2 separate regions of the Homo sapiens genome follow, and region 1 is linked to region 2. The links are contacts of gene promoters, found by promoter capture Hi-C in blood cells and fetal thymus (Javierre and others, 2016). All regions are on one chromosome and are shown on one strand. Each heading gives the region's core, a stretch centred on a gene start or on the middle of the fragment in contact. The rest is flanking DNA. Distances are from core to core; before and after follow the strand shown. Region 1 has its middle 80 kb from the start of DSC3. Region 2 holds the start of TTR (transthyretin).

The links. The method cuts DNA at HindIII sites, captures the fragments that hold promoters and counts their contacts. A CHiCAGO score of 5 or more calls a contact.
Region 1: a contact is called between a fragment that was not itself captured here and the fragment with the promoter of TTR in region 2, in 1 of 17 cell types (monocytes). The highest score is 5.2, in monocytes.

Annotation. Positions count from the first base shown.
Region 1 is chr18:30,961,149-30,963,848 of GRCh38, forward strand. No RefSeq gene overlaps it. Among named protein-coding and RNA genes, the nearest start is that of DSC3, 80 kb to the right of the region's middle. The HindIII fragment of the contact is 439 bases long and covers 1,162-1,600 here.
Region 2 is chr18:31,590,427-31,593,126 of GRCh38, forward strand. TTR (transthyretin) reads left to right here and starts at 1,451. Exons shown (of 4, transcript NM_000371.4): 1 at 1,451-1,545; 2 at 2,470-2,600. The coding sequence starts at 1,477. The HindIII fragment of the contact is 4,728 bases long and covers 871-2,700 here.

The DNA.
Region 1 (2,700 bases), core at 131-2,630, 630 kb before region 2:
TGTAATAATAATGGAAATAAAGTGCATAATAAATGCAATTTGCTTGAATCACCCTGAAACCATCCTCTTTCACTGGTCTGTGGAAAAATTGTCCTCCACAAATCTGGTCCCTGTTGCCAAAAATGTTGGGGACCACTGATATAATATATTATTTCCTTCACAAACAAAAAAGCATTTTTTTCTAGAGTAAAAAAAAAAAATACCTGAGAAGTAAAATCTTTTCTAGTAATTTCTAAGCTAAATTATTTTATGTCCATGTAAATTATAATTATCCATCTAATAAATTCTAATACCTTAGATTTAATTGTTGTTCATTTTCTTAGTATTAACATTTCATTTTTATAATGATTATATATTAATGTTGTGACAAATTATGATGTTTCAATATACTTATATGAAATGTTTCCTTACCAACAAAGAAGTATTTCATAAAACCATTTTTGGCATTTATAATCAAATTAATGCAACAGTAAACACAATAGCATGTTCATAATTACTGTGATAAATGTGGTGTAATTGTAAGAGCTACTAGCATCTATCCTTGATACATTGTAATATTGCTATTAAGGAAACAAAAGATATTTTAAACACTTTCTAATTTTTAATTTCAATAAAGACTGAAAACTACTAAAATTGATTGTAATGTGAGCAAAACTACACTCCATTAGTTCTGCCCTGAATTAACTGTTTTCCAGTTGATTATACTTTTTCAGCTTTTATATCACTGAGAACTAAGCAATTGTTCAGTCCTGAAAGACCGTTTAAATTTGGTGGTTTCAATTGGTCATTTGTACTTACTAAATACAATTCTGAGTGTCTGTGTATAAATTGCAGTGATCATTTAGCAGCTGACTGGTGGGTCATCTATGCCCATAGTAGAAACAAACTCTTCAAATTAATCAATGGTCACAAGCACAGCCAGAAATAGAAGTTTAAACATAATTGGCTTAAACCATCTATATCTCAATCATAAAATGAATATGAATCATTACACCTTGAAGTGAGAAGTTGTCATTCATATCCAAGTATCCTAAAAGGTTGTCTACAAAATAAAAAAATTGGGTATTCCAAATCTTCAAAACAATCATTCTTCCTAGTCTATAGATGCCATGGTTATCCAAAGAAATACAGGAAGTTCTATTTAGTTTCATGCTGGAATTAAGCTTAATATTTCAACATTTCCCGTTACTCTTTCATTAGGAGCAACTAACCATAAGGAGTGGAAGATGTATCTTTGTCAATGAAGTAGGCATTCAGGGTACAAATGAGATATATGTTGGCAAATTATTAGAAAAGAACCAGGTGATAAGGATTTGAAAAACCTTGCTTTCTCCTTCCTAACATGGTTTAGCTCCAGCCTGAATATTTCTTGAGTTCTTGATGAAAGCAAAATTATATCAGTCAGTGATTCAGATATAACTTCATGTTTGGAGGAGAGAGTTGTTTCCTAACAGCCACCTGAAACTCTAAGCTAACTTGCTTCTCCCTATTATAAATATGGAATTCTACAAAATCATCTGTCTCCCCTGGACCCCTATCCTAGCTACAGTTTCATTGTCACTCTTCCAGGTCCTTCTGGTTTGATACTAGTATCTTTCCAAGCTTCTGTTTAGTCTCTTCAATCTTGAGACATTGTTTCCAGACGTTTCCCTCATTTCCCCTTCCTGTCTTAATTCACACTTCCTTCCAGGAATTATCCTAGCCATACACTTTCTGCTTATAATAATTCTGTCTTCCTTCAATAAGTTTTTGTGATATTATAAAAATAACATTCCTAAGATCAATATGTTCATCTAGATATAGATGAAGAAATCTGTTAACTTGTTAAAATAGGTATTTTGGTTTTCTTTGAATTGTGCAGAAGAAACAACGTTCCACCGCCTATAAAGCAGTGCTTCTCAAACCTGATTGTGTAGAGGAGAACAGATTTTTTTCTCACCCATCATAAGGTGCATTGCTGACTCCTCATGACAAAAGGCAGTTGTTCATGTCATGGCAGCCTTCAAAAATGAAGACAGAAAGACCCAGGGAAAACCATGTATTGTTATGGACAGTCATGCAGAAGTTTGAATGGTAAGAAATTGAAGGGAAGTTGACAAGGTTTGTTTGTCCAGATCCTTCTTGGTGTTTCTGAGTGACATGCCTTTCCTCCGGTTTTAGGGCAGGACACCTTTCAAATGAGGGTGTTCAGAGGAGAAGCAGCGGAATAGATGGGAGAGGTTTCCTAGGTCTTATGACCTGCTTCAGGGGATAATGGAGGAGGAAGAGTGAGAGTGGCCTTCCTGCTTCTGCTGGTTCCTCAAATGCCAAAGAGCCCTATTTTGGGGTAGCACTTTCTGCACCACATCAACCACACACAAGAAATACATGCTGGGGCCCAAGGCCCACCTCAGGGGCTCTGATTTAAATGACTTTGGGTGAAGCCCAGTCATCTGTATTTTTAAAGTGATTCTGATATACAATCAAGGACAAAAATCTGTTGTAATGTGTTAGATTATAGAACTCTGGGTAAAAAGAGCAGCCCTGAGTAAGGAAATTACTACCAGCTCAGGTTCAGTAGAGACAAAGAAAGTACTGAGAACAGATGTTCTGAGGTAGACTTGCATGAGAAGAGGCAACAAAAATAGTCAGGGAAGCTGGGAACCAGGGAACAGGGTAGACTGTCAATGTTGAAAGAATTTAAAGGCCATTTGTGAACAA
Region 2 (2,700 bases), core at 201-2,700:
AATTTCTTGTTGAATTTTTTCTAATCTGACTCTATCAGTTATGGGAATGTTCCCTCAATTCTTAGTGCTCCAAACCGGACTTGCTCTTGGCTTGTATTTGTCCAAAATATTTGTCTTCTCTATGTTTTCTACATGTTTGTCTTATAAGGACAAAAACCTGCCTTAGTTTATCCATGAACAAAGCCACGCATGCTAGTGGACACACACACACATGCGCGTGCGCGCGCACACACACACACACACACATACACACAGAGACTTTGTATGTGAGTAATGAATCATCAAATCATCATAATTTCTGGACTTGTATTAATAAGTCGGCCAGGAGGAAAAGAATCTGCTGTCAATCATGGCTTCTGGTTCTCACAGTCATCTCTACTTTCTTCCAGCAAGTTTGGTTCTGTCAAAAACCAGCTGTCAGCCTTGTTCCTGCATGCCCAATGCAGAAGAGTCAGTAAAGAAGATTTGGTTCTCTGTATTTCAGGGGCATCAATGCCAGGTTGAAATATGCCATTCTGGCCCAGCTCAGTGGCTCACACGTGTAATCCCAGCACTTTGGAAGGCCAAAGCGGGTGGATTGCTTGAGCTCAGGAGTTCGAGACCAGCCTGGGCAAGAGGCTGAGGTGGGAGGATGACCTGAGCCCGGGAGGTCAAGGCTGCAGCGAGCTGTGATCGTGCCACTGCACTCGAGCCAGGGCGTTGGAGTGAGACCCTGTCAAAAAAAAAAAAAAAAAGGAAGGAAAAAAGGAAGGAAGGAAGGGAGGGAGGGAAGATGCCATTCTTAGATTGAAGTGGACTTTATCTGGGCAGAACACACACACACATACACACATGCACACACACATTGTGGAGAAATTGCTGACTAAGCAAAGCTTCCAAATGACTTAGTTTGGCTAAAATGTAGGCTTTTAAAAATGTGAGCACTGCCAAGGGTTTTTCCTTGTTGACCCATGGATCCATCAAGTGCAAACATTTTCTAATGCACTATATTTAAGCCTGTGCAGCTAGATGTCATTCAACATGAAATACATTATTACAACTTGCATCTGTCTAAAATCTTGCATCTAAAATGAGAGACAAAAAATCTATAAAAATGGAAAACATGCATAGAAATATGTGAGGGAGGAAAAAATTACCCCCAAGAATGTTAGTGCACGCAGTCACACAGGGAGAAGACTATTTTTGTTTTGTTTTGATTGTTTTGTTTTGTTTTGGTTGTTTTGTTTTGGTGACCTAACTGGTCAAATGACCTATTAAGAATATTTCATAGAACGAATGTTCCGATGCTCTAATCTCTCTAGACAAGGTTCATATTTGTATGGGTTACTTATTCTCTCTTTGTTGACTAAGTCAATAATCAGAATCAGCAGGTTTGCAGTCAGATTGGCAGGGATAAGCAGCCTAGCTCAGGAGAAGTGAGTATAAAAGCCCCAGGCTGGGAGCAGCCATCACAGAAGTCCACTCATTCTTGGCAGGATGGCTTCTCATCGTCTGCTCCTCCTCTGCCTTGCTGGACTGGTATTTGTGTCTGAGGCTGGCCCTACGGTGAGTGTTTCTGTGACATCCCATTCCTACATTTAAGATTCACGCTAAATGAAGTAGAAGTGACTCCTTCCAGCTTTGCCAACCAGCTTTTATTACTAGGGCAAGGGTACCCAGCATCTATTTTTAATATAATTAATTCAAACTTCAAAAAGAATGAAGTTCCACTGAGCTTACTGAGCTGGGACTTGAACTCTGAGCATTCTACCTCATTGCTTTGGTGCATTAGGTTTGTAATATCTGGTACCTCTGTTTCCTCAGATAGATGATAGAAATAAAGATATGATATTAAGGAAGCTGTTAATACTGAATTTTCAGAAAAGTATCCCTCCATAAAATGTATTTGGGGGACAAACTGCAGGAGATTATATTCTGGCCCTATAGTTATTCAAAACGTATTTATTGATTAATCTTTAAAAGGCTTAGTGAACAATATTCTAGTCAGATATCTAATTCTTAAATCCTCTAGAAGAATTAACTAATACTATAAAATGGGTCTGGATGTAGTTCTGACATTATTTTATAACAACTGGTAAGAGGGAGTGACTATAGCAACAACTAAAATGATCTCAGGAAAACCTGTTTGGCCCTATGTATGGTACATTACATCTTTTCAGTAATTCCACTCAAATGGAGACTTTTAACAAAGCAACTGTTCTCAGGGGACCTATTTTCTCCCTTAAAATTCATTATACACATCCCTGGTTGATAGCAGTGTGTCTGGAGGCAGAAACCATTCTTGCTTTGGAAACAATTACGTCTGTGTTATACTGAGTAGGGAAGCTCATTAATTGTCGACACTTACGTTCCTGATAATGGGATCAGTGTGTAATTCTTGTTTCGCTCCAGATTTCTAATACCACAAAGAATAAATCCTTTCACTCTGATCAATTTTGTTAACTTCTCACGTGTCTTCTCTACACCCAGGGCACCGGTGAATCCAAGTGTCCTCTGATGGTCAAAGTTCTAGATGCTGTCCGAGGCAGTCCTGCCATCAATGTGGCCGTGCATGTGTTCAGAAAGGCTGCTGATGACACCTGGGAGCCATTTGCCTCTGGGTAAGTTGCCAAAGAACCCTCCCACAGGACTTGGTTTTATCTTCCCGTTTGCCCCTCACTTGGTAGAGAGAGGCTCACATCATCTGCTAAAGAATTTACA